Regions from separate parts of the Homo sapiens genome. Here all the other regions are linked to region 7. Evidence: promoter capture Hi-C in 16 types of primary human blood cells and fetal thymus (Javierre and others, 2016). All regions are on one chromosome and are shown on one strand. Each heading gives the region's core, a stretch centred on a gene start or on the middle of the fragment in contact. The rest is flanking DNA. Distances are from core to core; before and after follow the strand shown. Region 1 overlaps MARCHF4 (membrane associated ring-CH-type finger 4). Region 2 overlaps RPL37A-DT (RPL37A divergent transcript). Region 3 has its middle 16 kb from the start of RPL37A. Region 4 overlaps SMARCAL1 (SNF2 related chromatin remodeling annealing helicase 1). Region 5 overlaps SMARCAL1-AS1 (SMARCAL1 antisense RNA 1). Region 6 overlaps SMARCAL1 (SNF2 related chromatin remodeling annealing helicase 1). Region 7 holds the start of PECR (peroxisomal trans-2-enoyl-CoA reductase).

Region 1 (3,433 bases), core at 454-2,953, 290 kb before region 7:
GCTGGTACTGCTATGGATTGTGTGCCCCAGCCCCCCAGATGTTGCGCCACCAGGGTCTCCTCAAGTGCCGCTGCCGCATGCTCTTCAATGACCTGAAGGTTTTCTTACTGCGGCGCCCTCCTCAAGCGCCCCTGCCCATGCACGGCGACCCCCAGCCCCCCGGTTTGGCGGCCAACAACACCCTTCCGGCTCTGGGCGCCGGGGGGTGGGCAGGCTGGAGGGGCCCCCGAGAAGTGGTGGGCAGGGAGCCCCCTCCTGTGCCACCTCCACCCCCCTTGCCACCTTCTTCTGTGGAAGATGACTGGGGTGGCCCAGCCACAGAGCCACCTGCCTCGCTGCTCAGCAGTGCCTCCTCAGATGACTTCTGTAAGGAGAAGACCGAGGATCGCTACTCACTGGGCAGCAGCTTGGACAGTGGTATGAGGACCCCACTCTGCCGCATCTGCTTCCAGGGGCCAGAACAGGTGAGTCCCCTTTTCTCTTCTCCTGCTTCCTGTGGTATTTTCAGGTCTTGCAGATTGCTACTCGCCTGCTTGCCCTGGGGAACGGTTATATTGTCTTTAGTATGAGGACTCTATGTTTAAGAGCCCTCATTGATGTTTCTTGTGGTTAAGTTTGCCCAATGAGTGTCTGGTTCCTGGTGGAGCCTGTTTGGTGGTTCGTTTGTGTTCTAGGTTTTGCATTTTCCTTCCAATGCTAGTGTCTCCAATTCCAACTCCAAATTTTACAAACATCCTCAGAATAGAAGATCTAGAAACAACGGAGTGAAGAAACTTGGTGGTACATTCACACTGGTTGCCAAGATATCCTTTTATCTAACTTGTTGTTAGTAACATTTCGTCTAGCCCATCTTCAGTCCCATATCCCAACTTCTTCCTGCTCTGAGAGTATGCCGAGATCTTGTTCTCTTTTCCTTTTCTCATAGGTTGAAATCCAGTAAGCTTGTTCTTTTACTTTGGACAACTTCCTTTCATATCACGTTGACATCCTCAGCATTATGTTCTAGCAACTGAGGAGGAAATGGAGAGGGATTCTAGGTCCAAGACTATATGATTTGCTGAGACACTTCTTGGCAGACTCAAATTTTTCTATGTTGAAAACAGGCAGGTAAATGGGAATGAGAATGAGTTTAAGAGACTGACGTAGGCAATAAGGTATCTTGCTATTTCCCTTTTCAGACCTAAAAAGTGTGTTGACTTAGAAAATCCCTTAAATGCTCCCCATCCAGGATAGGGATGCCAACTCTCATATGCACCAGGGCTTTTCCAAGTCTGGCAGGTTTTCCCTACCCTATTCATTCAGATTTTCACAGACACCCCTCCCAAGTTCACCTACAATCTAGTATCAGCAATGCTGGATAGCATGTGTACATTCTTCAGGAACTATAGAATGTGGCAACACTCTCCAAAGAATCACAGATAGAAAGGCTCACGCAGTTAGTGATGCTGGAGAAGGAGTATTCAATTGCAAGGTGGGCAAGGTTATGTGTTCCTATCAGCCACTTCTTCAATAGTTTCCTGAAGTGCAGGGAGGATTTCTGGATACTCCTTGAGGAAGTGGCAGTGCAGTAGGATGCCATGCCAGGCTTTGACTGGCTCTGGTTCTTGCTGAGGGTGTGCTCTGTAAGATGCAGGCTTAGCTGGCATTTTCATTCATTTTCTTGCTTTGCTCTCAATGGACAAAGAACTCTGGGGACCAGTGATCCCTGGAGCTACAGCTTGGAATTATGAGGGGAAGTGATATAGATCTTAGTGTGAATAAATGTCTCTGAGAGGCTGGGGGCTGGGTTCTTCCATCTTAAGATTACCTAAGTATCCAATAAAGTGTTGTCCAGAGTTGAAAACTCCTGTTAGGAAAAATCCTCCAGAGTGCCTTCCCTTCATTCTTTCTCTCTACTTCCAGCACCAGGCTCTGGCAGAGCTATGGGGTAGAGTGGCTCGGCTGACAACAAGAGGGTGCCTCACTTTGATATCAGGATCTTGCCACCATCAAGTACTTCATACTCTCCAAAAGAAAGAATTATTTGGCTTCCTAAATTCCTAAGGCATTTCTTTTTTCTCCCATATGGGCTCAGGTCTGCATGTCACAGGGGCTTCTGAGAGTGTGGCTTCTGGCAAGAGCATTCTTGTCTCTAGAAAACAGCAGGACTTGGAGGTGCCCTGGGATAATATTTCCCCCACTGTGTGAACTTTTTCAAATAGCTTCATGCCTCTGGGCTGCTTTTCCAACTTACGTGATTTGGAGACACCTTTTCATGCCCCCCCCTCCTTTCCTCAGAGGTGTGTTGGGAGAATCCAGGAGAAAAGAAGTGTAAAAATATCTTGGAAGGAATTTATATATAATGAGCATGTATTTTGATAACAGAAAGCTGTATTTTATTGAAAAAAGAAAAAGAAAAAAATCATTGGCAATATTGTGAAATACCCTCATGTGATACAAGATCTGGTCAGAGGTTAGAAGCTTTCCTTTCTTGTTCATTATTTTGATGGGGTGTCATAAATAAAGCATTGAATAAAAAAGCTAACACCAGTAAAGGAATGGGCTCTATTATGTGGGAGGATTAGGGGGCCCTGTCTGCATTAAGACTGGATCAAATTAAGCACTTCCTGCATATGATTATTTTGTTTTGGGGGTTTACCTTATCTGTGCAGGAGCCAAGAGGCTTTAATGGGATTGTGTTATAGTAGTAATAACAGCAATGTGAGTACTGCATTAGATGTGGAGAACACAGTTTCCCAGTTTCTTCTCATTTTTTTTTTCACAGCATTTCTATGAAGGAGACAAAGGAGGGGAGATAAGGGAAACTCTAGAAAAGGAAGAGAGAGATAGAGAGGCAACAGCAGTGAAGGGGAGGGAGAAAGAGAGGGATAGAGAGAGAAGGAGGAGGAGGAGGGAGGGGGAGAGAGAAAGAGAGAGAGACACGCTAAAATTTCTGTGTTTTAATTTCTGTTCAGGGAGAGAGCTGTCCAGCAATTGTCTACACATGGCCCTGGAGGAAATGTGGGCTGCAATCTTAGTAGCTGAATGTCTTGGTGTTATCTCTGCCCAAACAAAGGAATTAAGCAGACCCCCACCTCCCTGCTCCCCATCACCCCAATCATTTACTACTGCTATAGGGGCTAAACGACTGCCAAAAAATGAGTATTTGATCTTTTCCTGCCAACAGCTTGCAATATTTGTGGTGAGGAACAGCAAGAGAATCCAGCTAGTTTCACCTTTGTACCTATCTACAAAGGACTTTGCATCCATTCATTGGTGCATGCGTTTATTTAACAAATTTTTCGGGGCACCTGCAGTGTGCCCGTTGCTGTTCCAGGCATGAGTATTCAGGAGTGAACAAAATAGATGAGATTTCTGCTCTCCTGAAGCTGACATTCTAGTAGAGACACATAAATAGACAAGTAAACTAGTAAGTAAATAAGGTGATTTAAGC
Region 2 (3,003 bases), core at 10-2,509, 410 kb before region 7:
ACTACAGTCATGGTAACTGATGCCGCTTGAGGCCCACAAAGGGAGTGAGATGTGCCCAAGATGTTTCTCTTCCACCACAGGCCTCATGCACCCTCTGCCCCCATAGGTTAGGGTGGAAGATGGCAAGGGGCCAAGGGAACAAGTCCCTCTTCCCTCAGAAGGGAAATGCACTGCATTTCAGGGATGTTATCTGGAAAGCTCTCCACCCAAGCAATGCCTGCCTCCAGAAAACTATAAATTAAAACAAAAATATATCCATGTTGATACAAACAAAGGAGACTAGTGGAAGGAGTCTTAAACAAATGCTCACCATGATCCTCCCTTTTCAGACTGTGCCTCTTGGCCACACAGGATGGTGCTCAATTGAGCTGGGGAGTGGGTGAGTCAGCTTCATGCTGGGGCAGTCCAGGCAGAGCTGAGGTGAGCCATCCTGGGCTGGCACTAGAGCCTAATTCAGATCATCATTTAGCAAATGTGCTGCCTCCCCCACGCCCTCCGCTGCAGAGCCTCCTACGTCTCTGGCCTTCAGGGGGGTCTGAGAGAGAGAGCAAGAGAAGAGGGAATGCATGAGTAGGAATGCAGTAAGCGGCTGAAAATGAGACACTCCATAATAGGAGGAAATTGTTCATGTTCAGAGCAATTTTGTCAAAACTGAACAATTATCTTTAAATAGCAAGCTTGAGGATGTACAAATAGCACTCATGAAATCAGCTCTGAGTGACTTCAGAGAATCGGCCCTCTCCTAAAGTCTCAATTTGTCTTTTCTGTGGGCTCATAAATTTCCATCCCTATTAGAGTACCATCCGGTGTGGAGAATGTTAACTATAATGTGTCCCCATAAAAGACTCAGTAAAAATCACTGCTGGCTCACCTCTGCTCTTAAGGAGCCCTCAACATTCACTCTTTGCCTTTAGAAAAATAAATAAGTTAAAAGTCACCTCCAGAGAGGAGTTCTTGTAGCTGTTAACCAGTTCTCTTGGGGCATATGGAACATTTTATTCTTGAAAGAAATCTGAGGTGCAAGCATCATTCCAAATTCATCTTGTGCTGGAGACAGAAAGGGTTTATTGGGGCGTGGTTCCTTCACTTCATGCCTCAAGAGAGCCTGCTCTCCACAAAGCCCCTGGGGGCCACAGACAAGAGTGGGGCCTGCACAGCATTGTTGAGAGTCCCGTGAGGCCAGAGCCACAGGCAAGAGCTGACCCAGCAGGAAAGGTGAGGCCCTCCAAGGCAGTCCTGGATGCCCCGAAAGAATAAGAGTGTGGGAAATTGACTCAGGCAACCCCTCTTTCCTTTCCTCCTTCTCCCCTCAAATTCCATTTAAACTCGTTCTAGTTATTAATGGACCCGTCACAGAGCATTTACACAGGAAGTGCACACATAAAGACTGGAGTAGTTACTTGGCAACTCTTAAGTGGGATAAGGTATGTTAAAAGGAAAACTTTCAACAAATTAAATTTAACAGAGTTTAATTAAGCAAAGAATGATTTGTGAATTGGACAGCCCCCACAACCAGAAGAGGTCCGGAGCAGCTCCAGGGTTGCCACATGGTTGGTTCACATTTATGGACAGAACAAAGAAAGTAACATACAGAAAAGGGAAGTGAGGACAGAAAGAGCTGGATTGGTTGCATATTTGCCTTATTTGAACACAGTGTGAACGGTTGGCCACCTGTGATTGGCTGACATATGGCTGCGGTAATTGCCTGAGACTTGGCTACTTGTTACAAGAGTGGGTCCCAGTCTGTTTACCAATCTAGTTAGGTTATAGTTCACTCTGCACAGAGAAACCTTTAGGCGGACTTTAAAATATGTAACAAGGCAGCACTGGGTTAAGCTTAATTTAACGAGTAGCAGGAGGCGGAGGTTGCAATGAGCTGAGATCGCACCATTGCACTCAAGCCTGGGCGACAGAGACAGACTCTGTCTCAATAAATAAATAAATAAATAAATAAATCATAATTTAATGGGTAGATCAATATGAAACAATGGCCAAGTACATCATGTGAAGTGAGTCATTTTCAGTATGAAGAATTTGATACAGTTTTTGTAAAAACAGATTCTATGTGTATTTTACATATATTTGTATGCATAGAGATAAATTACAAATGGCTTTATCTCAAATTATTTAGTTATTACTTCTAGGAGGTAGGGCTGAGGGAGGGAGGGAGGAGAATGCAGGACTCTTATTTTTGAGCTTATACTTTTCTAGATGAATTTTTTTTTTTAGACAGAGTCTCTGTCTGTTGCCCAGGTTGGAGTACAGTGTCACGATCTCGGCTCACTGCAACCTCCGCCTCCCGGGTTCAAGCAATTCTCCTGCCTCAGCCTCCTGAGTAGCTGGGATTACAGGCGCCCGTCACCATGCCCAGCTAATTTTTTTGCATGTTTAGTAGAGATGGGTTTTCACCATGTTGGCCAGGCTGGTCTCAAACTCCTGACCTCAGTTCATCTGCCGCCTTGGCCTCCCAAAGTGCTGGGATTACAGGCGTGAGCCACTGCGCCCAGCCTTAGATGTATTTTTACATCCAGTTCATAATATTGGAAAGAAGGCACTGCAGAGCAGTAGGTGGAAGGACCGTCTTTTCCATAAGTGGTGCCGAGCTAACTGCATATTCATATGGAAAAAATTAACCTTGGCCTTACCTCACCCCATATACAAAAATAAACTGCAGGTGGATTGTAGATCTAAACATTAACGGCAAAACACAAAAGCTTCTGCAACATACTATTTTCTTTTTCTTTTTTTCTTTCTTTCTTTCTTTTTTTTTTTTTTGAGACGGAGTCTTGCTCTGTTGCCCAGGCAGTCTCGCCCTGTCGCCCAGGCTAGAGTGCAGTGGCACGATCTCGGCTCACTGCAACCTCTGCCTCCCGGGTTCAAGTGATTCTTCTGCCTCAGCCTCCCAAGTAGCTGGGACTATAGGCATGCACCACCACACCCAGCTAATTTTTGTATTTTTTTTTTTTTTTAGTGGAGATGGGGTTTCACCGTGTTGGTCAGGTT
Region 3 (3,280 bases), core at 740-3,239, 430 kb before region 7:
AAACTAGAGGACCTATTGACTATACTGTGACACCTACGTCAGTACACAAAACAAATAGTGAATATGGTGATATACATGCAACAGTAACGATTGTATTTCCCTCTTGACATTGTTATGAATAGCCAGGCACGGTAGCTCATGTCTGTAATCCCAGCACTTTGGAAGGCTGAGGCAGGAGGATCGCTTAAGCTCAGGAGTTTGAGACCAGCTTGGGAATCATAGTGAGACTTTGTCTCTACTAAAAATAAAAAAATTAGCCAGGTATGTTGGTGCATGCCTGTAGTCCCAGTTACTCAGAAAGCCAAGGCAGGAGGATCACTTGAGACCAGGAGTTTGAGACTGCAATAAGCCGTGATCATGCCACTGCACTCCAGCCTGGGCAACAGAGCAAAGCCCTGTTTCAAAAACAGAAGAGACATTTTAAGGAATACATCAATGTTTAATGCCAGCTCAGGAAACAAAATGGAACAGGCAGGCTTCAGGAACAGAAAACAAATCACAAAGGTGTTGGTTCTTGTACAGTGTGAAAAGTCTATTTTTTTAAAAAAAGATGAGCATTGGACAGGCGTGGTGGCTCATGCCTGTAATACCAGCACTTTGGGAGGCCAAGGCAGATGGATCACTTGAGGTCAGGAGTTCAAGACCAGCCTGACCAACATGATGAAACCTCATCTCTACTAAAAATACAACAACAAAAAAAAATTAGCTGGGTATAGTGGTGCACGCCTGTAATCTCCTGTAACTGAGAGGCTGAGACAGGAGAATCACTTGAACCCGGGAGGCAAACATTATAGTGAGCCGAGATCATGCCACTGCACTCCAGCCTGGGCGACAGAGCAAGACTCCATCTCAAAAAAAAAAAAAAAAGATGGTTAGCATCTATTACTGCTACCTCTTGAGTGCTGAAACATTTCTTAACATTTTAAGTTTTGCTTGATAGAGATTTCTATTATTTAGAAATTAACAAATTCACGTTTTCCAGCTTATGATGATTCCAACTTGCTGGGTCGTCTTGTTCATTGCCATTGCTTTTTTTTTTTTTTTTTTTTTTTTTTTTTTTTTTTTCAGATAGGATCTGGCTCTGTCGCCCAGGCTGGAGTGCAGTGGTGCAATCTCGGCTCAGCTCACTCCAACCTTTGCCTCATGGGCTCAAGCCATTCTCCCACCTCAGCCTCCCAAGTAGCTGGGACCACAGGCGCATGCCAGCACACCTGGTTAATTTTTCTATTTTTTGTACAGACAGGGTTTCGCCATGTTGCCCAAGCTGGTTTTGAACTCCTGGGCTCAAGCAATCTGCCCACCTCCGCCTCTCAAAGTGCTGGGATTACAGGTGTGAGCCACCATAGCCAGCCCCTTGATTTTCTCTAGTCAGTGTTTCTCTAAGTTCTTCAATTAATTGTTCAATTTGCACCTCAAGAATATTTTCAGAGCCATTGCCACCTACTTATCTAGTGTTTCATATCAATGCCCCAGAATTGCTGAAAAATCATGCACGTTTTCCATATGTTTAACAATATATATGTCCTTCTTTGTCTCTAGTAATGCTTTTTTGCCTTTAAGTCCACATTGTCAGATATTAACACAGCTTTCATTTCATGGATCATTATTTCTTAAATGCCTGTTATATCTTTTTCCATCCTTTTACTTTCACTCTTTCGGTATCTTTATAACTTTGGTGAGTCTGTTTCCTTATATTTTATTTTTATATCTGATTCCTTGTGCTTTAGGTTTTTCTTTAATCCTTATACTTTGGGTATGTAATCCAATTTGACTATATCTTTAATTGACACACTTAGTCTATTTGTATGCAAAGTTATTACTGGCACATTTATATATATAATATGTATATTATATACGTGTGTATATATACATGTGTACACAGGCATATGTTACATACAATATGTAATATTGTAATACACATGTAATATGTACTATATTATATATATTACAAATGTATAAATTTAGATATAAATATATATAAATGTGCCTATATATATATGTGTGTGTGTGTATGTATATACATGTGTGCACAGGTACGTTTAAATCTACCTTACTAGGTACTACTTGTCTTACAAATTCTTTTTCTCTCTCCTCTGTTTTTCAATTCTATTTCCATTGTATTGTTATATATTACTTTCTATTCTTTTCATGATTATCAGAGATTGCAACATATACTAACTTTGTAGTTTGACTTCTTCCAGAACAATGCAAGAACCTTCGAATATTTTAACACTATTTACCCTTTCCCAATTTATATGCTGCTGTAATACATTTTCGTTTCACTCCCCAAAGTTGTTGCTGCTACTATTCATGTGGTCTAAATTCACTTGTATTTACTGACATAGTTCCCGTTTGTTGACTGCCACTCCTTCCTTCAAGTCTCATCCATGGATTATTTGCCTTCTGTGTGATGTGTGGGTGTGCTAGTGATCAATTCCGTCAGTATTTTATTGGTGGTGGTGGCAGAGGTAACTGTCTTTGTTTCACCTTCATATTCTGATGTTATAATTGCTGAGTACAGAACTTGAAGCACTTTCAAAGTATAACTCTATTTTCTTCTAGATTCTATGGTTGTTAAGAAGTTAACTGTTAGTGTTACACCTTTTTTGCTACTAGCTGCTTTTATTATGCTCTTTTTCTCTGGGATTCAGTAATACTATGACATTCTTAGGTGTAACTTTTAAATTTTTATTTTGTGTAAGTTTACAGGGATACTTTAAACTGTGGCTTGGTATCTTTCATTGGTTTTGGGGGAAAAAAAGCCATTATCATCTCTCCTTTCTCCTGTGGGACTCCAATTATATACTATAACTGAGGCCAGGCATGGTGGCTCACACCTGTAATCCCGGCACTTTGGGAGGCTGAGGAGGATCGCTTTAGGCCAGGAATTTGAAACCAGCCTGGGCAATATAGCAAGAAACCAGCCCGGGCAACATGGCAAGATCCAATCTCTACTACTATTACTACTAATAATAATAACAATAAGCCGGGCATAACACACAGTAGCTTCTGGCCTAGCTACTCGGGGGGCTGAGGCCAGAAGACCACTTGAGCCCAGGAGTCCCAGGCTGCATTGAGCTATGATTGTGTCACTGTACTCTTGCCTGGGCAACAGAGGAGACTGTCTCTAAAAAGAAAAGAACTCTTAACTAGCTCCTATGTCTTGTACACGTATTTGTTCTTTTCCTTTTTTGGTGCTTCTTTCTGGATATTTTCTTTTGATATGGCAAGGTATCTGAAGCACAGAGCTGAAATTATTGGATGGTAAAGGTGATAATCT
Region 4 (3,417 bases), core at 600-3,099, 370 kb before region 7:
GCCTCGCCCTGCTTCCGCTCACGCTCGGTGTGCTGCACCCACTGTCCTGCAAACACTGTCCAACAAGCCCCAGTGAGATGAACCCAGTACCTCAGTTGGAAGTGCAGAAATCACCCATCTTCTGTGTCGCTCACGCTGGGAGCTGTAGACTGGAGCTGTTCCTATTCGGCCATCTTGGAACCGCCCCAAGATGATTCTTTTTTATAGTATAGTAATAAAAATAACAACTAACTCTCATATACCACTTATTACGGGCCAAGCAGTGTTCTAAGAACTAAATATGCATTAACTCATTTAATAATCAGCATTGCTATGAGGGAGGCACTACTTTACCACTGTGCAGATTAGGAAACTGAGGCAAAAAAAGTCAAATGAGTATACTTGTCACACTGCTACTAAACGGTAGAACCAGAATTTGTAGCACTTAAAAGTGCAGGCTCTGAGGCTCAAATATCTGGGCTGATGGTGAGAATTTAATGACGCAATACACGTAAAGCACCATGCCCAGCACAGAGCAAGTATTCAATAAATGTTACTGATTGTAAGTATTTTTCTTTATTTTTCAGATTTTATACAATAGATATCTATTTTAATGTGGGAGAAATCAATAGTTTCAGCTTTAAAAAAACTCCCCCAAACTGTGCAGACCTAATACTCTCTATTAATGATCTTACTTCTTTTGCCAGCTACTGGCCAGGAAATTTTAAATAACCTGCATTCTTTGTTCCTGACTAGACCTTAATTAAATTAGATCCAATGGAGTTTTTAAATTTTTCTACATTGGAAATTTGAGTGGATTGTCAAATGGCAAGGGTGAACTGATATTGTTACCAGGAAATCTGTATGGACTTGTTCCATTTCTCTGTTACTGGTCTTGAGGATGAAAAAATGGCTTTAGACAAAAGATGATTACAGTCAGCTTTCCTTTGCCTGTGAAGCGATATCCATTATTTCAGCTGAAAAAATGAGAAAAGTCTTTGATTATACATTACATTCTATAAATTGGCTCCTTCACCTTGGCTCCTGTGATATAAAGCTTTTTAAGAAATGTATTCTTCCAGATGGAAAGGTGTGAAGGAACAAAGAATCAATTCTTGACAGGCAGGTCAGCAGTGCTTGGCTGGAGTCACCATGATTTGCAAAATTGCAAGGAAACTTGGGACTAAAAAGTAACTTAAAAAACTGGTGGCAGTGGAGAGAGGGGACTTTCTATAGATCCACAGGGCCTCCTTATTCAACTAAAACCATAAAAAAAATAAGTCCCCATTTTAACCCTTCCAACTCAGGATTTCATAGCTGGCCAGGGTCTGGAAGACATGCCTATGGTCATCTAGTCCAGCCTCCAGCTGATGCTGGCTCCCTTCCTGAATTAAGTTAGAGCAATGATCCTGATCAGATCCATGGTTTAGAAATGCACTAAATCAATGGCTTTAGAAATCCAAAGGTTCTGATGGCCCAAAGCACAAACACACAAATCTGTTTTCTACTTGGATTTTCCATTATAAAAATTGATTTCTATTAAGACACAAAAAGGCATCAAGTTCTTAAGGAATTATTATCTGAAAGAATTTAGTGTCTGGCTTCAGCCATCACACTGATGGTAATCTGTACCAACTCAATCTCTATCTTTCAGGGATAAACGTTTAACTTTCCTAAGACTCCAAGGAAGCAGACAGCAACTCTCAGGTGCTGGACTGAGAAGAGCTCCGGGCTCTTTCTCAGCTGGATTCTTGAAGAATGACACTGCAATTTAGGCTTCATTTTCATCATCTGCAAAATGGAGTTAACACTGTGGTGTTTACAAAGCAAAGAGGATAATCACCCAGTAGGCAGGATTCTGGGCAACTGGCACTATCCTTATGTACTTTTCCACAACCAAAAGGGAGTTGTGGCTCCGTTTCTAAGCAAGAAAATATAAAAATATCCTCAAAAATACTGGATTTGTATAGCTACCTAAAGTTATAAAACACCCAACATTCCTAAATTCCATAGTACCTCCTAGTTAATTTCATAGCATCACCAACAAGCTCAGAAATCAAACTCTCAGGTGACATCTGAAATCATCTTTGAAAAGAGCCACTCCCTTTACTTGAAGAACTATACAAGTTGGCAGAAGTTTACAAAATGCTTTCAGATCTTGTTGCACTAAGCACAAAATTTCTACTGCTTTTCTTTTTTTCTTTTTGGCCATACTACACAATTCACAGTTGTGTTTCAACAAGTTAATGTGCTTTTCCTCCTTAATTCAAATGCCCACTAATTGCTTTTTCAGGTGTCTACCTTGGCTGTTCTCAAACTGGTTCAGGAGGTGAACCAGGTATTGGTGAGGGTGTTCTCTGGGGAATCTCACGAAACACTAACAGACTTACTTCCATCTCACACACACAAGGAACAACTTTGCTGGCAAAAAAAATAACATTTTATAAATATTCAGCTCTTTGCATCTAAAAATATTGCATGTCTGAATTTTTCCATTAATATTATATTTGCTATACCAGTTCACTGGTTTTCTTGTCTGGTAGAGTTCACCAGTAGACGAAAGTTATTAAGAAAAAGTTATAAGAAAAAACTTCAAATTGAGAAAAAATAATCTACTCATTGCATTTTTATCTCTAAAAATAAACAAAAGACCACCAAGATTGATTTTAGTGACAAAGCTTCCTGGTTTTACTCATGATTCCACTGAAATATAATCTGAGAACACTGGTCTATATGTCTACATCGATGTTGTTTAAGTTTGAAAACTCCACAATAAAGAGATGATGCCTGCTCACTTACTCCAGACCATCCAGATTATTATATGTAATACAGCATAAATTCAATACAGCTTGAAAATTTGCCAGTGCATCCTCTATCCTGTCATTTCTTAAAAGTTATCAATGAATCTTGCTCATCACATGGTAAAATAACATGAAAAACATGCATTCTGTCTCTTGTCATTCTTATTTATTTTGTAACCTCCCAGAAGGCTGAGATCTACATCTAAATATCTTTATACAGGGTAATATCAAGCCCAGATAATGCTTCATGATGTTGAAAAATATCAATGACTGTTATTTTCTTAGTAATGGGAATTACAAGGTTTTATCTAAGAGGACAGAAACAGAGCTGGTGTAGATTATAGCACTTAGCACAGTATGACACTAAAGACAGAAATAAAAGTGTTTGAAAAGATAAAACCATCATAGTGAAAACAGTCCTAAAATATAGGGGCAAGAGGCTTGGTTCTAGCCTCAGCTCTGTGGTGGAGCAGCTAAGAGACCCTGGGCAAACTGCAATCTCTGTGAGCCTCAGTTTCCCTCTCTGTAAAAAGGGGGATGCCAACTTCCTGCCAACCATAAATGCCTGTAATAGGGATTTAAAAGGTTAGGAGGATTTGAAAACTCTATTTTGTTATAAGAATGTCGGCTTGTTATT
Region 5 (3,154 bases), core at 256-2,755, 320 kb before region 7:
ACTTGGTCTTTATGATTTGTGTGCAAGATACTGTTGCCAACAGATGAAATACAAACACTAAAAAGAAAGTTTGTCTCAAGGAACTTAAAGACTAGGAGAAGAGAGAATACCTGTGTGGAAAATATAATAAAAAAAGAATTGTGGATAAGATCAGTGCAGTGGTGTGTGCCTGTAGTCCCAGCTGCTTAGGAGGCTGAGTCAAGAGGGTTGCTTGAGCCCAGGAATTCAAGGCCTTAGTGGGCTATGATTATGCCTGTGAATAGACACTGTGCTCTAGCCTGGGAAACATAGTGAGACTCCGTCTCTAAAAAGAAATCAATCAATCAATCACAGATAAATGGCCTTGGGGGTTTAGTGAGGAGCTCTGATGATGGAGACACAGGGAATACAGAATCAGGAAGGTTAAGCGGATGAAGTGGTGTCTGAACTGGCTAAGTAGAAATTTGGAATCCAGCAATAATAGGAAGATGGTGGTTATGGCAAGGATGATCCAATCTGATGGAAGCACAAATGCTGAGAAAAATCTAGTTAACCAAAATAATGTGTAAAAGAGTTTATTCTTTAACATAGAGTTATAGATTGGCAGGATGTTTTCCTATATGACACGATCTCTGGGGTCCTTTCTACAAGTCTGAACAAGTAAAAGAGAGCCAGAAGTCCCTTGGCGGGGGATAAGATGTGCATTTTGATTGAATTTGGCATCTCAATCTAACTCCTAACTGCATTAAAGGGGGAAAACATTATCAATATTAACAAAACTGATCCCTCATGAACAGACTCAAAGTCTAAATCTTTAGCTAGCACTTTATCAATAACATGTTCTAATTACATGTGAGGCTTTGAAAATATACCTCTGTGTGATAATTGCTGGAAAGCAGATTTTAATCCCAGGAACTTATAAATTGCAGTTGTAAAGATGCAATAGAGAGCTTATCCATTGACACTATCTAGTGTCATTTGCTTGCAACTGCAGATATTGACAGGACGCTGCTTGGAACAATGGGTGCCCTGTCCCCCTCTATGACCACCACCCCAGTTGATCAAGTGTATAAGTGACAGTTTATATGCAAAATGGTCCAAAGGCTACCTGATCACCCCCCAAGGCCACATGGGGCTTTGAGGAAACTGAATGCAAAGCCACGTGTTAGATAAAATAAAGCTTATATCTTCATCCCAGAAATTAAAAAGCCCCCTGGCAAAGTCAGCTTCCAGAAAAGCTGAGGCCTGAAAGAAGAACCAGTCCCCCAAAGCTCTATCATTGGATTGAATTGTTTCAGACCTGAGGAGGAGGGAGCTCCTGAAGCTGGGCCCACCCTGGGACATGGAGGGTGGGCTTCTTCTGCCATCTGCCACCTCTTTATTCCAATGCCTTCTCCTCTCAGTCTAGATTTCCCTGGGCCCCCAGTCCTCGCCCAACTAGTGTGTGCTGTTTGTGTGATCAGCAAATCATTTAGGGAAAAGCCTTTTAATTAAGAGGAGAGCAACAAATTATTAAGTCAGAGTCATTTATTACCCTGCCATCTGGCCAGACTTCCTTCTGGCCCCCCTTCTTCCTCAACCAAGCCTGCACAGACATATAAAGTAACAAAGAGAATGGAAAAAGAGGAGACTTCTTTCTGCCTGGACTTGGAAAGAACTGTCCAGCTCCTCCTGGAAGCAGGGTAAGGGTTCTAGGAGGACTTTTCCACACCCTTTGTATACTGTAGTAGCCAAGTCTTGGTTTTCCTCTCCTGTAGAACAGGGATGATGAGGTCTACCTTAGGGCTTCTGGATGCCTGGCCCAATGGCTGGTATAGTGGAGGCACTCAGGAAACAGAAGCTGAATCTGAAGCCTGCAAATTGGAAGCTTTGTTATGGATGGTGGCGTCAGCAGTAGTGGAGACAGTGATGGCTGGAGGGAGCCTACTAAATGTTTCCATCCTGCAAGCTCAGCTGGCTCTCCCTCTGTTGTGACCCACAGAGGTATTCCCTTGCTGTCTCCCTGCAAATGCCAGGGAAGCTCAGGAAATTCATGCCCACCCCTTGCTCCCGTCCCCAACCAAACCTAAATGCTGGGACATTATTCTAAGAGAAAGACAGCTGGAGACCACAGTATCTGGTTCAGGCATGATGAGAAGGACTGAGCAACACTTAGAGTAGGAAGAAGCTAAGGAATCACACATAGGGGTGTATTTCAATAGCCAACAACTCAGAGAGGACTATGCGGGATACATGATAAGACAGGCACTATTTCCTAAAAGCAAAACACCACAGTTATGACAGCTATGAATGAAAACTAATACAGGCATATTGGAGACTCAATTACCATGAGTGGTGTGGCAGTCAATGATGTGATTTTCCAAAAGAGTGAGCAAATCTGGTAAAGAAATTAACAACACAAACTCTAATCTTCCCTTAATTTACAGAGTAGTTTCATTCTTAGCATACAGTTAGTGCATATTAAAAATCATTTTTAAAAAGTCTCTCTGTTTACATATAAAATTGTTACTTTTTAAAGCTCAGATAGTTATAAGCAAGTTATAAACAACTCTGTAAATATCTAGTAGAACATTTGAAAATTGTGTGGAGCATAGGGTAAGTATATATGAGATGGTGAGATTGTCTCACAGATAGTAAAAGATTGAGCTGCCTGGGGTCCCAGCCTCTACTTGCCAGAAGTAAGCCCCTTACCCATCATTGGGGCAACCAAAAACACTCCACACTTTTTCAAAATGCTCCCTCGTGGGTGATCCTGTGCTAGACTAAAAATTGAAATGTGAATCAAACTAAATTAATGTTTAAAAAAACCTTACTTCGACACAATCAAGAAATTTTGAATTTGAATGGATACATGATGATTTGAAAGAATTTTTGTTTTGTTAGATATGATAATTGTCTTAGTCCATTTGTATTGCTGTAACAGACTACCACAGACTAGGTAATTTGTAAACCATAGAAATTTATCTGGCTCAGGGATCTGGAGGCTGGGAAGTCCAACATGGAGGAGATGCATCTGGCGAGGGCCTTCTTGCTGTGTCGTAACCTGGCAGAGGGCATCACATGGTGAGAAACCTCTCCAGAGCAAGACAGCAAGAGGGGGCTGGATTGCTTTTATAACTATCCCACCCTGGAGACAACTAACCACTTCTGCAATAATGATTTTAATCCATTCTTG
Region 6 (3,476 bases), core at 730-3,229, 350 kb before region 7:
AAAAATGACTCCCCCAAAGACTCATTACCTATATCACTTTGCAAAACTATCAACACTCAAGTTTGCTTATGCTAAGAACACAGTGTGGTTCTCATGTCCAAAACAGAATAATAGATCCCCTGAGGTCAGTAACGGTATCTTCTCCTTCCTTTCTCTAAGCTCCCACAATATTTGTGTGAGTTATGTAAATATACTCAGTACTGACAGAGATGGCTGGGTACCAAGTCTGTCTAGACTTTCCTTAGGAAGTATGTGAGGAGTTAAAAGTAGGAAAGCCTGCAATTGAAAGATATGTTGTCAAATCTGGAAGCAGGTCCAGTCAGACCTTCTTTAAAAAACAATTAGAGGCCGGGCAAGGTGGCTCATGCCTGTAATCCCAGCACTTTGGGAGGCCAAGGTGGGTGGATCACCTGAGGTCAGGAGTTCGAGACTAGCTTGGCCAACATGGTGAAACCCCGTCTCTACTAAAAATACAAAACTTAGCTGGGCGTGGTGGCAAGTGCCTGTAATCCCAGCTACTTGGGGAGCTGAGGCAAGAGAATTGCTTGAACCCGGGAGGCAGAGGTTGCAGTGAGCCGAGATCACGCCACTGCACTCCAGCCTGGGTGACAAGAGTGAAACTCTGTCTCAAAAAAAACAACACAGAAAAACCTCCAAAAAACAGTTAGAGTAAAAAGTGCTTTTGTGGGGTGGGGGTGTATCTTCACATTGGCTGGAAGAAAACTCAATTGTTTGAGTAAGATGGCACCAGATGTAGGCACACCCCCTTGCCGTCCAGGTTGTAGTACCCAGAGCCCCCAGGTGGCCTGGGGTCCACATGCTGGCCTCCATCCATGAGTCACGCTGGGAAAGAGATGAGCTAGAAATCCCCAGCAAAGACTAATTAAATCACAATTTCAAAAAAAGCTCCCTAAGAGATTCTAGTACGTAGCCAGAGTTGAGAATGGCTATTTGAGGGGAATGAATTTCCAGTTCCCCACAAAATAAAGACAGTGATTTCTATTCTTCTAGAAACTAAATGGGGCTCAAGGAGATTACAGACATGAAAGTTCTCAGAGCTTTTACAAAGAAAGTTTCCAGAGAGATAAAGTACTTAAAGACTTTGCCAAGTTTCTTACAATGATGACAACTTTAAAAGGGGTTTTTAGCTGTTTTTCCAACTTGCTAAGAAGGTCAAAGCTGACAATGTTGATCAGGCCAGCTGTCAGGCGGTCCTTCCCAGTCACCACGACGTTGATGCAATCTGGGCTCAGAGATGGCAGCCACCGAAGGAAGGCCTGTGGATGACAGGAGGGAACAAAGCTACAATGACCACCCAGCACAGCAGCTGTTGGTTGTGACAGCAGCAGTCTCATGCCCATCAACAGCCATCACCTCTACCTTCCTCTCACCTACCTGTGCCCCTTCACTTGCCACTAACAGGACACTCCCTTTTTTGTTTTTTTAAGAGTTGGGGGAGACGGGTGCGGTCGCTCACACCTGTAATCCCAGCACTTTGGGAGGCTGAGGAGGGCGGATCACCTGAGATCGGGAGTTTGAGACCAGGCTGACCAACACGGAGAAATCCCATCTCTACTAAAAATACAAAATTAGCTGGGCATGGTGGTGCATGCCTGTAATCCCAGCTACTCGGAAGGCTGAGGCAGGAGAATCGCTTGAACCCGGGAAGTGGAGGTTGTGGTGAGACGAGATCGCGCCATTGCACTCCGGCCTGGGCAACAAGAGAGAAACCTCGGGTCTCAGAAAAAAAAAAAAAAAAAAAATAGAGAGTTGTGTTGGTCTCACTTTGTTGCCCAGGCTGGAGTACAGTGGCACCATCACAGCTTACTGCAGCCTCAAACTCCTAGGCTCAAGTGATCCTCCCGCCTCAGCCTCCCAAGTTGCTGGGACTACAGGTGCACACCACCATACTTGGCTAATTTCTTTCTTTCTTTTTTTTTTTCAAAGAGATGGGTCTCAGTATGTTGTTCAGACTGGTCTTGAAGTACTGGCCTCAAGCAATCCTCCTGCCACAGCTTCCCAAGTTGCTGAGACTACAGGCCTGAACCACCATGCCTCGCTATCTCCCTGCCTTTGTCAACAGTCACTTCACAGTGTCTGGGTTTCATTTCTGTGATCTCTAACTAGATGGTAAGTTTCTGCAGGGAAAGAATGCGACTCTTTTTAAGAGGAATTTTATGAACGATGTAGCAGAGCCTGGTACACTGAAGGCAAATCATAAACATTTATTGATGATGACGAGACTACTTATGTCGATATTTCTACAAATCTACCTTCTCTCTCTGGCAATCTGAGCATCTCTAGCCAAACCCACCCAGGCATCTGGGTGCTCACCTGCCTCACATGGGGTGACACTGTTCAATACAGGGAGGGCTGGCCTTTTCTCTAACCTCAGGCTGGTCACCGTCTGGCTGACTCTTCCTAGAATTTCTGAGGGTGCTGTGGGAACCTAACGCACACAAAATATGTTCTGAAGATTACTTTCTACAGGCACTGGCAGAATTCACAAGACTTGGGAGGCCAAGGCAGAAGGATCACTTGACCTCAGGAGTTCAAGACCAGCCTGGGCAACATAATGAGACCCTGTCTCATTAAAAAATAAAATAAAAAATTAAAATTAAAAAAAAAAAGAACTCAGATCACCAGGACAGAAAAAAAACAAGGTGCACATTTTTTAGTGTTTTTTTTTTTTGCCATCTCTTCGGTCAGAATAGCACATCTGGGCCTTGGACTGACCGGCAGTAGGAGGAGCTGCCTCTTCTGCATGAATGGCTCATGGAGGCCTCAGGAAGAAGTCCCAGGCTGACGTCAGTGGCATAAAGCTAGAAAAAGCTGTGGACGATGGACCAGGTCTTCCTTCTTCACTGAGTTTGTTCATGGGCTTTTTATTCATTTCACAAAAGCACTCTGATTCCTGGATTTACAGCAAAAAAAGCTCAAGGGTGAGTGATACAGTTTTCTTGTCAGGCTCTGGATCCATAAAGCTACCTGGCAGACAGTGAACATCCCACTCACTCCCCCCTCTACAGAGTGCAAAACCCCTGAGTTGGGAAGTCAGAAGATGCCACATCAAGATCCGCCAGGGCTCCTCATTAAGAGGAAGCATGGAGCTTAACCTCTGAGATTCCATTTTCTCATCTATAAATGGGGTTACTATCTATTGTACCTACTGCACAGGACTGTCATGGGATTGAGGAAAATACAGGAGGTAAAAATATTTTAAAAATTAAGTGTGGGCCGGGCACAGTGGCTCCTGTAATCCCAGCACTTTGGGAGGCCAAGACAGGTGGATCACTTGAACCCAGGAGTTTGGGACCAGCCTGGGCAACATGGCAAAACCTCATCTTTACAAAAAGTACAAAAACTAGCCAGTCTCATAATCCAGTTTCAAAATAAATAAAAATTTTAAAAAACAATAAAAAAGAAAAATAAAAAAAAATTAAGTGTGGTACAGATGAAAAGTATTATTAGCAGGG
Region 7 (3,038 bases), core at 186-2,685:
TGGTCCTAACTACAGAATTGACTTAAGTAGTAGAGTTAAGTGATTCCTGGATAAACTATCTAGCAAATGGTAACCAGGAGATTTATTCCTTTCTTTAACGAGTGTAGATTTGAATCTGTCAGCAACAAAGATAGAGGGAGAAGTGATTCTAAAAAGAGATCAGAGAAGGACAAGAGGATGGAGCAACAGGGAAGTGTAGCTGTCCAACAAGAACTGCAGCCTCGCTGGTGGGTGGGACCTGGTGGAGGAAGTGATGGTCTGATTCCTCTGTCAACCAGACCCATTTCCAATTGGCTTTGTGAATCCTAGGTGGTAGGTCCAACAAAAGGATGATGGCATTTATTTGCCTTTATATTATTTTAATACCTGTCCGGGGAAAATGCAACACTCTGACAACAGCCTTAGAAATAGCATCCCATCTGGATTGTTAAGACCACAGCAACTGGCACATTCGACCAAGTTCTTAGGGTGAAGTCTCAGTAGGCCAGTCCAGGTGTAATCTCACTCTGGTGGGTTCAGAGCGGGAAGCAAGATGAAAAATAAGGAGCAGATCTGAATAATAAATCACTGTTACTGGGCACCATAACACAGACGAGAAATTTTCCCCATCCTCAGCGGGCTCACCCTCCTGCACAAGGAATGAACTACAGGACATGATCTCAAACACCTACAGATGCATCTTGCAGGAAGCGTGCACCCTTCAAGGAAAGATCCTCTTCTGGACTCGCTATGCAGCTCAGCTGAAATGGATCAGGTCTCAAACCTGGTAAAGATGATCTTTCCCCTTGATTCTTGGGTGGGGAGTGGGAGGTGAGACGGAGGTGGGCCTGAGTTTATTTTTTCAAATCGTTTATTCTCTTGGTTCTGTGGAAAACTGCAACCGCATCTCCTCTTCCCCTTCACTCTCTTTCCCGGGCTCCCTCCCGAAGGATGAAAGGATCTGAAAGCCGCATTTCTCCCCCTCAGCTAAGCCTGCCCTTTCTCCCCTTCCCAGCCAGCGGCACACAGCACCTGGAGCCACAGCATCGCCGACGTCCGACCCCGGCAGGCGGGCGCAGCGAGGGCGCCGAGCAGCAGCCTTTCTTTTTCCAGCTGCACTGGAGATTTAATTTTAATTAATCGTGAGAGCTTCAGCCCTGAGGATTGAATTTTTGAAATAGAGCACACCCTGCTTGTTTCTTTCTTCTTCTTTTTTTTTTTTTGCATTTCCCTTCCACCCTCCCCAATGGCATCGAAATTTAAAGAAACGAACGAGCAGTCTCACCCACACCTGCCCAGGGACCGACGCTGGCGGAGGTTGCGGACAGCCGGCGGGGAGCGGTTCTGCTCCGGGAGGATGCGGCTTTGCCGCGGCCGGCGGGCGGGGCGGGGCCGGGCCGGGGAGGGTGCGGGGTTCTGGTGGTCACGTGGGCTCGAGCACCGCCCTGTCCGCCCGCCCGCCTCGAATGTCCCTGAGACCCAGAAGGGCCTGCGCTCAGCTGCTCTGGCACCCCGCTGCAGGGATGGCCTCCTGGGCTAAGGGCAGGAGCTACCTGGCGCCTGGTTTGCTGCAGGGCCAAGTGGCCATCGTCACCGGCGGGGCCACGGGCATCGGAAAAGCCATCGTGAAGGAGCTCCTGGAGCTGGGTACGTGAGCGGGCCGCTGGTGCAGAGAGGTGGCTGTGGTGACCTGGGGTAACCTGGAGACGGGAGCCAGGAGCTCTCGGCGGGGCTGAGGGAGTGTGGAGCTGCAGAGCAAAGACGGGGCAGGTGTGGGCGAAATTACGACCACCAGGGAGACAGAAGAGAGCAGCTCTTCCTAAGGAATTGTGGAGCCACTCGTTAAAAACTGAAGAGACCACTCAGGCCAAAGAGACTGTGCCCCAGGTAGGCAGTAAGAAGAGCAGTGAAACATGCTGTGCAATTAGTTTTATATTCAGATTTAAAATTAATCCATTCTATATGCTTAATGTGAGTGATTAGGAAACGTGGGAAGACTTCATTTAACTGGAAAAAGTTGTGAACATAGTGAGTCTCTCATAGTATCTTCTCACATCTCTTAACCACAGCAAGGAAATATGCTGAATATTTACCTTAACTTGGGTGAAGGAAGGCCTTTGTAAACACATAAGTGAGGGAATAAACCACAAAGGAGAACATAAATCAATCTACCTGTATGAAAGTGTAAATCCTCATTGAATTAAAAAAATATATAAAGTTTAAAGGCATATGAAGAAAAATATTTGCAACATAAGATAAATTGTTTGTTGGTTTTGAGATAGGGTCTCACTCTGTTGCCTACGCTGGTCTCGAACACCTGGGTTCAAGGGATCCTCCTGCCTTGCCTCTGAGTCCTAAAGTTTTGGGATTACAGGCTGAGCCACTAGATTCGGCCAACAGCCTTATACATAAAGAGCTCTTACAAATAAAGAAAAAATCCAACACACTGATAGAAAAATTAGACTAATGGTATGGACTAAGCGTTCCAAAAGAAGAACTACAGACAGGCAAGAAACATATGAAAAAATAATCAACTTTATTGGTAATAAAATATGAAACAGTAAGATTTAACTTTTCTAACAAAATTTTGAAATGTTGGGAAAAATTAAAGTGTTGATGCAGGAATGAGAAGGCAGGAATGTAAATTATTACAAACTTTCTGGAAGGCAATTTGGAAAAAAAGATCCAAAAACCTTCACAATGTTTATGCTCTATGACAGTAATTCCTTTTTCAGGAATTTAAGGAAACGGAGTCAAGCAAAGATTTTCATGCAAGGATGTAGTCTTGAGTAGTGAAAAAATGGAAATTACCTAAAAATCCAATATAAGGAAAATAGTTAAATCAATAACAATGAAATATAATGCTTCCGTTTAAATATCTTGCTATTGGTCCTGGCGCAGTGGCTCACGCCTGTAATTCCAGCACTTTGAGAGGCCGAGGCGGGCAGATAACCTGAGGTCAGGAGTTTGAGACCAGCCTGGCCAACATGGTGAAACTCCATTTCTACTAAAAATACAAACCAGGCATGGTGGCGTACACCTGTAGTCCCAGCTACTTG

The links. Contacts are between HindIII fragments. The CHiCAGO score rates a contact against its expected background, and 5 or more counts as called.
Region 1: a contact is called between a fragment that was not itself captured here and the fragment with the promoter of PECR in region 7, in 1 of 17 cell types (activated CD4 T cells). The highest score is 5.7, in activated CD4 T cells.
Region 2: a fragment that was not itself captured here is called in contact with the fragment with the promoter of PECR in region 7 in 3 of 17 cell types (neutrophils, activated CD4 T cells and total B cells); the score reaches 7.2 in neutrophils.
Region 3: a contact is called between a fragment that was not itself captured here and the fragment with the promoter of PECR in region 7, in 1 of 17 cell types (activated CD4 T cells). The highest score is 5.7, in activated CD4 T cells.
Region 4: a contact is called between a fragment that was not itself captured here and the fragment with the promoter of PECR in region 7, in 1 of 17 cell types (neutrophils). The highest score is 6.1, in neutrophils.
Region 5: a fragment that was not itself captured here is called in contact with the fragment with the promoter of PECR in region 7 in 7 of 17 cell types (neutrophils, activated CD4 T cells, naive CD4 T cells and 4 more); the score reaches 14.1 in neutrophils.
Region 6: a contact is called between a fragment that was not itself captured here and the fragment with the promoter of PECR in region 7, in 1 of 17 cell types (neutrophils). The highest score is 6.7, in neutrophils.

The regions. Positions count from the first base shown.
Region 1 is chr2:216,366,776-216,370,208 of GRCh38, reverse strand. It overlaps MARCHF4 (membrane associated ring-CH-type finger 4), which reads left to right. Exons shown (of 4, transcript NM_020814.3): 1 at 1-464. Among named protein-coding and RNA genes, the nearest start is that of MARCHF4, 4.0 kb to the left of the region's middle. The HindIII fragment of the contact is 1,519 bases long and covers 944-2,462 here.
Region 2 is chr2:216,490,607-216,493,609 of GRCh38, reverse strand. The region is part of intron 1 of RPL37A-DT (RPL37A divergent transcript); the gene reads left to right. Among named protein-coding and RNA genes, the nearest start is that of RPL37A-DT, 6.6 kb to the left of the region's middle. RefSeq lists an enhancer at 984-1,043. The HindIII fragment of the contact is 1,159 bases long and covers 680-1,838 here.
Region 3 is chr2:216,513,492-216,516,771 of GRCh38, reverse strand. No RefSeq gene overlaps it. Among named protein-coding and RNA genes, the nearest start is that of RPL37A, 16 kb to the right of the region's middle. The HindIII fragment of the contact is 4,644 bases long and covers 1-3,280 here.
Region 4 is chr2:216,451,486-216,454,902 of GRCh38, reverse strand. The region is part of intron 12 of SMARCAL1 (SNF2 related chromatin remodeling annealing helicase 1); the gene reads right to left. Among named protein-coding and RNA genes, the nearest start is that of SMARCAL1-AS1, 41 kb to the right of the region's middle. The HindIII fragment of the contact is 1,621 bases long and covers 1,039-2,659 here.
Region 5 is chr2:216,398,086-216,401,239 of GRCh38, reverse strand. The region is part of intron 1 of SMARCAL1-AS1 (SMARCAL1 antisense RNA 1); the gene reads left to right. It overlaps LOC107985984 (a long non-coding RNA gene), which reads right to left. Exons shown (of 3, transcript XR_001739880.2): 3 at 1,492-1,832. Among named protein-coding and RNA genes, the nearest start is that of SMARCAL1, 13 kb to the left of the region's middle. The HindIII fragment of the contact is 687 bases long and covers 1,162-1,848 here.
Region 6 is chr2:216,433,139-216,436,614 of GRCh38, reverse strand. SMARCAL1 (SNF2 related chromatin remodeling annealing helicase 1) reads right to left here. Exons shown (of 18, transcript NM_014140.4): 9 at 1,119-1,277. Among named protein-coding and RNA genes, the nearest start is that of SMARCAL1-AS1, 22 kb to the right of the region's middle. The HindIII fragment of the contact is 9,837 bases long and covers 1-3,476 here.
Region 7 is chr2:216,080,206-216,083,243 of GRCh38, reverse strand. PECR (peroxisomal trans-2-enoyl-CoA reductase) reads left to right here and starts at 1,435. Exons shown (of 8, transcript NM_018441.6): 1 at 1,435-1,626. The coding sequence starts at 1,503. It overlaps TMEM169 (transmembrane protein 169), which reads right to left and starts at 1,325. Exons shown (of 3, transcript NM_001142311.2): 1 at 1,265-1,325. RefSeq lists a silencer at 1,224-1,483 and enhancers at 1,674-1,723, 1,754-1,833. The HindIII fragment of the contact is 11,582 bases long and covers 1-3,038 here.